Regions from separate parts of the Homo sapiens genome. Here region 1 is linked to region 2. Evidence: promoter capture Hi-C in 16 types of primary human blood cells and fetal thymus (Javierre and others, 2016). All regions are on one chromosome and are shown on one strand. Each heading gives the region's core, a stretch centred on a gene start or on the middle of the fragment in contact. The rest is flanking DNA. Distances are from core to core; before and after follow the strand shown.

Region 1 (4,387 bases), core at 1,853-4,352, 150 kb after region 2:
AGCAGCGACACACCTGTGATCCTAGCACTTTGAAACACCAGGCAGAAGCATCGCTCGAGCCCAGGGTTTCGAGGCCAGCCTAGACAACATAGTGAGACCCCGTATCTGCAAACAAACAAAACAAACACACAAATAAATAAAATTCTAAAAAGACGGAAAGGACAGGGCCGGGCGTGGTGGCTCATGCCTGTAATCCCAGCACTTTGGGAGGCCAAGGCAGGCATATCACCTGAGATCAGGAGTTCGAGACCAGCCCGGCCAACATGGTGAAACCCTGTATCTACTAAAAATACAAAAAAATTATCTGGGCATGGTGGTGGGCTACTCGGGAGGCTGAGGCAGGAGAATCGCTTGAACCTGGGAGGCGGAGGTTGCAGTGAGCTGAGATCATGCCACTGCACTCCAGCCTGGGCAACAAAAGTGAAACTCTGCCTGAAAAAATAAAGGCCGGGCACGGTGGCTCACACCTGTAATCCCAGCACTTTGGGAGGCCGAGGCAGGCGGATCTCGAGGTCAGGAGATCAAGACCATCCTGACTAACAGGATGAAAGCCCGTCTCTACTAAAAAAAAAAATACAAAAAAATTAGCCAGGCGTGGTGGCAGGCGCCTGTAGTACCAGCTACTCGGGAGGCTGAGGCAGGAGAATGGCGTGAACCCGGGAGGCGGAGCTTGCAGTGAGCCAAGATTGTGCCACTGCACTCCAGCCTGGGTGACAGAGGGAGACTTCGTCTCAAAAAAAAAAAAAAAAAAAAGGTAAAAAGGACAAACTATTGATACACACAGTAACGTGGGTGTGAATCTTGAGGGAAATTTTTTGTTTTGTTTTGAGACGGAGTTTCACTCTCATTGCCCAGGCTGGAATGAAGTGGTGCGACCTCGGCTCACTGCAACCTCCGCCTCCCAGCTTCAAGCTATTCTCCTGCCTCAGCCTCCCGATTAGATGGGACCACAGGTGCCCACCACCACACCCAGCTAATTTTTTGTATTTTTAGTAGAGATGGGGTTTCACCATGTTAGCCAGGCTGGTCTGGAACTCCTGACTTCAGGTGATCCACCCACCTTGGCCTCCCAAAGTGCTGGGATTATAGGCATGAGCCACTGGGCCCGGCCTCAAGGAAATTATACTGAGTGGAAACAACCAATCCTAAAAGGTTATATTCTGAATGATTCCGTTTATATTATCTACCACTCTTGAAATAACAAAAGTCTAGAAATGGCAAACATATTAGTGGCTCAGTGGTTTCCAGGGGCCACAGAGATAGGGGGAGAAGAGTGTAGTTATTAAAGGACAACATGAGGGACACTTGTGATGATGCAAATGTTCTGTATCTTTTTTTGTTTTGTTTTTGTTTTTTGCTTTCTCCTGTCTGATGGAAATGTTCTGTAGCTTTCTGTTTTGTTTTGTTTTTATGTTTTTGTTTTTTGTTTCTCCTGCCCGATGGAAATGTTCTGTACCTTGACTGTGGTAGTTGGATACATGAACCTGCATACTGGATAAAACTTGGTAAAATTATACACACACACACACACACACACACACACACACACACACACACACCAGTGAGTACAAGTACAACTGGGGAAATCTACATAAGATCAGTAGATTGGATCAATGTCAATATCCTGACTATGATATAATAGTATAGATTTGCAAGATTTTCCTATGAGGTGAACTCAGTAAAGGGTGCACAGGATCTCTATGATTTCTTCCAATTGCAGGTCAGTCAGTCTACAATGATCTCAAAACAAAACAAAACAAAAAAACAGTTTAAGCCGAGCGTGGCGACTCACGCCTGTAATCTCAGCATTTGGGAGGCTGAGGCAGGTGGATCACTTGAGCTCAGGAGTTCAAGACCAGCCTGGGCAAAACCCCATTTCTACAAAAAAAAAAAAAAATATATATATATATATACACACACACACACACACACACACACACACACACACACATATATATATATAAAAGTTAGCCGGGCATGGTGGTGCACGACTGTAGTCCCAGCTACTCAGGAGGCTGAGGTGGGAGCATCACTTGAACTTGGGAGGTGGAGGTTGCAGTGAGCTGAGATTATGCCACTGCACTCCAGCCTGGGTGACAGAGTGAGACCTTGTCTCAAAAAAAAAAAAAAAAAAAAGGCCAGGCATGGTGGCTCACGCCTGTAATCCCAGCACTTTGGGAGGCCGAGGCCGGCTGATCACTTGAGGTCAGGAGTTCGAGACCAGCCTGGCCAACATGGTGAAACCCCTTCTCTACTAAAACTACAAAAATTAGCTGGGCGTGATAGCGAGCACCTGTAATCCCAGCTACTCAGGAGCCTGAGGCAGAAGAATCGCTTAAACCCAGGAGGTGGAGGATGCAGTGAGCTGAGATCATGCCACTGTACTCCAGCCTGGGTGATAGAGCAAGACTCCATCTCAAAACAACAAAAAAAAGAAGAATAGAACTGATGGGCCAGGTGTGATGCCTCACGCCTGTAATCCCCAACACTTTGGGAAGCCAAGGCAGGAAGATCTCTTGAGCCCAGGAGTTCGAGACCAGCCTGGGCAACATAGCAAGACCCCGTCTCATTAAAAAAAAAAAAAAGGATAGAAATGACAAACATTTGATGCAACCTGAGAAGGCTTTCTGGAGGAGGTGATGTATGAGTTGGGCTGATGGGAGAGGTGGAATCAGGGAGCCCTTTGCTGTTTATCTATGGGTCGTTCTAGCGGCAGTTTCTCCCTAGACCCAGCTATTTACGCATGCACATCTTCTCTTTCTCTTACAGTCATCAGTGAGTTCTGCCTCAGTCAGCTCCCAAGTGAGGACGCAGTCACCTTTGAAGACTCCGGAGGCTGAGTTGCTGTGGGAGGTGTACCTGGTGCTGTGGGCCGTTCGGAAACACCTGCGCCGGCTGTACCGCAGGCAGGAGAGGCACAGACGGCACCACGTCCGATGCCATGCTGCCCCCCGACCCAACCCGGCTCAGTCCCTGAAACTGGATGCCCAAAGTCCCCTCTAGGGGGAACCCCAGACCCTTAGAGAGTCCTGACCTCACTCTTACCTGGGGTCCCATATCAGCCCCTTCATTCCATGTATTCCAGTTGTAAAACAAGTATCAAAATATTGGGAAATAAATATCAGATAGTTCTGAGTCAGTATGGAGTGTGTTTGTGGACGGCGGGAGGGGATGAGAGGAGTTTGGGTGGGTCAGGGAGAGACCCCTAAGGTGAGGGCCTAAATCCCAGTAGGGGTCACCTGTGGGTCTATTTGGGGGGAAGCATGGTCAGCACGTTTCTGCTCTGGGTCCCACCCCCTTCTTGGGGCCAAAATGCCTGTTTGTAACTCCACCTTTCCTTATAAGGACGGTAACAGCTGCCATTCACCAAGGACCCAGTCCCGTCAGCTGCTGTCCTTAGCGATCCTACAAGAAAGGTATTTAGGGTGGATTACGGGACTTGTCCAAGGCTCAGCAAAGGAGGCCTTGCTGGAAACTGCCAGCTCCCAGGGGTAGCCCACTACCCTGCCTCTCTGGTGCTGAAGGGCTTTGCCATGGGCTTGGCTGTGGAGAGTTGTGCGTCTGCAGACGCACATGGGGGCTGTGGGAGATGCATCCACGTGCTGTGAAGGAACTCCAGCCCCGCTGCCTGCTGCCCGCGCCTCACCAAGAGCTGAAACTACACCTCCAGGGGGCTCTACAGGGACCATGCTCACGGCAGGGCCGGGTGAAGGCTGCAGCCTAGGAGCTGGGTGAGGGATTTGGCCTGGCACCGTGGGAATAAGGACCTAGAGGGAGGCTGTGGCAATTTGGAAGGAGGTTGGAGGGCAACGGAGACAACAAGAAGGGAGACCCAGCAGCCTCAGGTCCCCTCTCGGAGTAGCCAAGCCACATGAAGGTGCAGAGGTGGCTCTCCAGGAAAAAGCAGGGTTGTTTCACAAAAGCAACAGCAAGGCCGGGCACGGTGACTCATGCCTATAATCCCAGCACCTTGGGAGACTGAGGCGGGAGGATTGCTTGAGCTCAGGAGTTTGAGACCAGCCTGGGCAACATAACAAGACCTTATCTCTTAAAACATCTTTTTCACATGGTGAAACCCCGTTTCTACTAAAAATACAAAAAATTAGCTGGGTGTGGTGGCATGTGTCTATAATCCCAGCTACTTGGGAGGCTGAGACAGAATAATTTGAACCCGGGAGGCAGAGGTTGCAATGAGGTGAGATTGCACCAGTGCACTCCAGCCTGGGCAACAGAGTGAGACTCTATCTCAGAAAAAAAAAAAAAAAGAAAGAGAAAAGAAAGGTCATGTAGCTTTCATTCTGCACATGTTACACAGCAGGTGTTCAACACATGAGTTAAGTGACTTCACTGGGAATCAGTCCTGAGTGAAGCCTAAAGTCAAAGCCTG
Region 2 (4,556 bases), core at 1,444-3,943:
GTGGAGACCCTCGGTCAGCTTCAGGAGAACTCTAGGCTGGGAGCCCCGGCAGGCAGCTCGGATGTCTGGGGCTCAGGATGAGGGGACGAGAAGAAGGGGAGGTAAGATGGGGGCAGGTTAACAGAGAGCGGCCGGGAGGAGCGCGGCTCGGGGAAGTCTGGGGCCGCAGGGCGCACTGGCGGGCGGTGGAAGCGGGAGGAGGAACTGGCTGGACGCCCCCTTCTGGCCCCTCCCCGACCCGCGGCCGCACCGCGCCTCTTCCCCTAGGAGATCCCATCTCCCCGGCCCTGCAGCAGAGTCCCCTTTCAGGCTGGAGAGGGTGTCCTCGACTTGGGGCACAGCCCCCGAGGACCCCTTTAGGGAGGTCCCCGCCTGAAACATTGCAAGGGAGACTTCTGCCGCCAGGAGGGGGTGATGGGACCGCAATCGGGAGCCCAGGGCTGGGTGTAGGGGCCCCCCGGGGTTGGAGGAACCTAGTCCCCCCAGCCCTGGGGTGCCCCCTCGCGCCCGACGGAGGGAGCCCGATTGCGGACGGGGGCCGGCAGTTACTCACCGTCCCAGTAACCCCAGGCCGCCCATTCCACCCGCGGGTCGGTGACCCATTTCCGCCTCGCGCCTGGGGGGGGCCCTGGAAGAGGGATGGGTGGGTGCGGGAGGAGGGGAGAGAAGACGGGGAGGAGGGACTGAAGGGGCGGTTAGTGAGGAAAATGGGTCAGGGAGGTAGGGGGCCCTAGGCACTGGGGCGCGGGGTGGGCGGGGCGGAGGTTAGGGCTGGGGGCGGGGCTGCGGCCGGGGCGGGGCCTGGAGGGGGGGAAGGCGGAGGTGAGGGAGTTCTCACCAGTGCCCGAGGTGGCCCGCCCGCTGTACCAGAGCAGGAAGCCTCGTCCTCCTGTGCCCTCATCCGTCGTCATCCTCAGGGTCACCTGGTTGCCGGGGGCGACTAGGGGCGCAGGCCGGAAGGTCCCACAAAAGCGTCCGAGCCGCTGGCCGGAAGTCCCAGACCCAGCGAAGACCTCCAGAGCATCGTAGCGGCAGGCGGGGTGCAGCTCCAGGTCGAAGACTCGGAATGAGAGGGACACAGTCTGGCCCTCGGGGACCTGATAGCGGGGACAGAGGCGGGGACCCACAGAGTCAGGCCCCACACAACCCAGCCAGAGGGCAGCTCCCCTGCCCCAAGCGTTTCTTGCAGAAACGGACTGAATGGGAAGGGGCCTCCATGTGAGTGCAGAGCAGAGGGCCTGGTCTCTGCAGCTCTGCTGGTAGCCTGTGCAGGGGACAAGAGCTGAGGCTTTGGAAGAGGAGGGAGGGCCGGGGACTGGAGAATGAAGATTTGAGGGAAGGGTTAAGATGATGCGTGTTACGGTGGGAATGATGCCTTCAGTGACAGAGGGAAGACACTTGGAGCTGCCCCAGGTTGAGAAGGTGGTGCGGGGGGGACGGGGGGGGGGTCCCTTCGCAGTCAGGCCTTTTTGCCTCTGAGACTTTAACAAGGGGTAGTGCCCAGAGGGGTTTCTCACCGTTATGGTCCAGATGCACTCCTTATTAGGGGGGTAGAGGTTGGGGAACCCCTCACTTGCCACGTAACCTGATTCCCCCTTCACATCCCCTCCGCACAGGAACACGGGTCTGGAGAACAGAAAAGGGGTCAGGAAAGAGCAGGGACGGGTGGGACGGGGGAGCACTGGCAAGATGGGGATGAGGTGATGAGGATGAAACTCCAAGGAGGGAAGCTGGGGGATGAAATGGAAAGGCCTTGAGAGACCTGGGGCAGCTTCCACCAGCCAGGACAGGGCTGGGGTGTCCCAGACTCCCACAAAGATAAGGGAAAAGTGGGCCTGGCAACTCGACCATCCCTCCAACCCCAAGAGTCCCCACCCCCACCCCAACAGGAATTCCCGGAATCCTCCTCGGCCCCCCTTCCAGACTCCCGCCTCACTCTGCCTGGCAGTCCAGGGACAGGAGCCGCCTAACTACTTCCAGATGTGGACACAGCCACGAGGCGGTGGGGGGGAGGGGGTGGAGAGATGGAGGGAGCTGCAGTGGCGATGGCCCTCTGATTGAACCTGGAGGCCAGGCTCCGCGAGCTCCACACCTTAGCCCTGCCCCTGTTCCAAACTACTTCAGATTCTGACTCCCAAGTCTCCACTCACTGCCCCCTCCTCCCCCTACAATCCCTCTCGAATTCCTTCCTGGAATCCAGCTACCAGGCAAGTTCAGGAGCTTGGCTCTCTCTTGGGTTCTATGGGGGGTCAAGGATCTGGGTGGGTGGGGAGACTTAAGAGACCAGAGGACGAAGGTGGGGGAATGGGAGCAGTGGTGGCCTGCAGGAGACCAAGGTCTTGCAGCAGATGGGGAGGATTTGGGGGCCAGAGAAGGGTGAGGCGGTGGGGAATCTGGGGAGTGGTGTGTCAGCAAGGGAACCCAAAATATCTCCAGGCATAACCCCAAAGGAATCGGGGGTCTGAAGTTCACTGGAGCTGTCTGGAAGATGCCAAGAGACCTACCTGGTGTAGTTGGGGGTCTGGCCCTGGGCAAAAGGCAGCAGGGCGCAGGCAGTGAGGAGGGGCCCCAGGAGGGAGGCTGTGGCTGCAGGCAGCATGGCCCCGGGGGAAAGGCGCTGGGGTCCTCAAGACAGAGGCAGCAGCTGAATTTTGCAGAGCAGCAGCAGCGGTGGCGGCAGCAGCAGGATAATCAGCGCCAGATGGGGCAGCCTTGGGTGTGTGGGCGTGGGGACTGGCCAGTGGGGCGGGCAATGGGGAAGGCGGGACAGTGGCGTGTCCTGGGACCTCTCTAGGTCTAGGACACATAAATGTTGACCTTAGGAGGGGGAGGAGCAGTGAGGGGCAGAGGCCGTCTCCCAGGCCTCAAGTAACGTCATCGGGAACCCCACTCTGTCCAGTGAGGGAGTATCTCCGGGAACTTCTGAGGACTCCCTAGCCCCCATCCTCCCCCCGCCCCTGCTTCCTCAGCTCAGGAGCCCTCATTGCTCACCCCCTGCCTGACCACCCCTGCCAGCTCATTTTCCACTTCAATTTCTTTTTTTTTTTTTTTTTTTTTTTGAGACAGAGTCTCATTCTGTGACCCAGGCTGGAGTGCAGTGGCGCGATCTCTGCTCACTGCAACCTCCGCCTCCCGGGTTCAAGCAATTCTTGTGCCTTAGCCTCCCGAGTAGCTGGGACTGCAGGTGCATGCCTCCACACCTGGCTAATTTTTGTATTTTTAGTAGAGGCAGGGTTTCAGCATGCTGTCCAGGCTGGTCTCAAATTCCTAGCCTCAGGTGATCCGCCCACCTCGGACTCCCAAAGTGCTGGGATTATAGGCGTAGCCACCACACCTGGCCTCCACTTCACATCTCCATTGCCTTCTCTCCAGACCTGGGCCAGACTAGGCCAAGGAGAAGGAATTCTCACCCATGACCTCTTCCAACTACTTGAAGGTACAGGAAGCAAGGCAGGAGGCATGGGGTGTGGATGAAGGGAGTGTCCTTGTTACTCAGGAAGAGGTGGAAGGAGTAGAAAATAGAGCCCAAACCTGGGAGGTAAACAGAAGGGAGAGAGGAGGGGGGCTGGCTTCAGGCCGAAGGGAGATGGGTGGGAAGCTTTCGGGGGTCAGGAGGAACAGGCTGCCTCAGGATGGGGACAAGTCTAGTGGGCAGGGGATCCCAGTGGGGTAGCCAAGAGCATCTGTGCATAGAGTTGTTCCAGAAGGTAGGGCCAGAACTTCCCAGTCCAAACGACCAGGTGTGCTCTTGGGAGCAGGGAGTGGACAACAATGTGAAGGGTTCAGGCAGCATCAGCTCTGCTGCACCTGAGACCTGGAGCTGCTTGTGCTGCCTGCCCCTGCCTGGGCTCCTGCCCTCCTGCACCCACCAAGCCGGGCACCCACCCACCCCATCCCTGCCCCTGTCCCTCCCAGCCCCCAAGGCTTCCACACCAGGCCTCGCTGCAGCCTTTTATTCTATCCATCAAATCTCTTGTCCATGATAGTCAGGTTGGGGGCCCCTCCTGGGCAGCCCCCTGAACATTCTTACCCTGGTTAGCCGTCCCCACCCCCTAGCAACCCCTTCCCACACGCATGTGCACAATGGTCATTGCTCCTTAGTCCCTGGCCTGGGGCCGGACTCCCTCCTCCAGGGACTAGGCTAGCATGAGGGGGATTAGGTCTCAGGGGCTGGGGGCCCTACACCACCCCCGCCTCCTTCAGCCCTCTGCAGCATGTCCAGGGCCTCCCAGAAGAAGTCCTTCTGTGCGGCCATCAGGGGCATCCACCCTACGATCTCCTTCATCTTCTCCGTGCGGTCCTGCAACGTTTGGCAACTGTGGATCTGGCTGAGGTACTCCTCGCAGGCCTGGGCCATCCCCCCGGGGTCCTGGGGTGCTCTGGCCCCCAGGCTGGGCTCAGGAGTCCCCACCACCCTGCTGGCTGGCAGGTGGCGATAGGGGGCGTGCTGCTCAATGTCGTGGCTGGACAGGATGTATAGGCACTCCCTGGTGGCACAGAGGGCACAGGCACACAGAGGGACCTTGGAGGAGGAGAGAAAGGGGGCATGGCTGAGT

The links. The method cuts DNA at HindIII sites, captures the fragments that hold promoters and counts their contacts. A CHiCAGO score of 5 or more calls a contact.
Region 1: a contact is called between a fragment that was not itself captured here and the fragment with the promoter of PCOLCE in region 2, in 1 of 17 cell types (erythroblasts). The highest score is 5.6, in erythroblasts.

The regions. Positions count from the first base shown.
Region 1 is chr7:100,455,368-100,459,754 of GRCh38, reverse strand. It overlaps TSC22D4-C7ORF61 (TSC22D4-C7orf61 readthrough), which reads left to right. Exons shown (of 6, transcript NM_001395846.1): 6 at 2,770-3,135. The coding sequence ends at 3,003. SPACDR (sperm acrosome developmental regulator) reads left to right here. Exons shown (of 3, transcript NM_001004323.3): 3 at 2,770-3,135. The coding sequence ends at 3,003. Among named protein-coding and RNA genes, the nearest start is that of SPACDR, 6.7 kb to the left of the region's middle. RefSeq lists a silencer at 2,491-2,653. The HindIII fragment of the contact is 8,422 bases long and covers 1-4,387 here.
Region 2 is chr7:100,600,500-100,605,055 of GRCh38, reverse strand. It overlaps PCOLCE (procollagen C-endopeptidase enhancer), which reads right to left and starts at 2,693. Exons shown (of 9, transcript NM_002593.4): 1 at 2,505-2,693; 2 at 1,518-1,626; 3 at 839-1,097. The coding sequence starts at 2,599. FBXO24 (F-box protein 24) reads right to left here. Exons shown (of 10, transcript NM_033506.3): 10 at 3,939-4,522. The coding sequence ends at 4,157. It overlaps PCOLCE-AS1 (PCOLCE antisense RNA 1), which reads left to right and starts at 1,018. Exons shown (of 9, transcript NR_038910.1): 1 at 1,018-1,218; 2 at 1,890-2,716; 3 at 3,373-3,436; 4 at 4,204-4,333. RefSeq lists silencers at 75-224, 405-784 and an enhancer at 792-1,584. The HindIII fragment of the contact is 14,893 bases long and covers 1-3,600 here.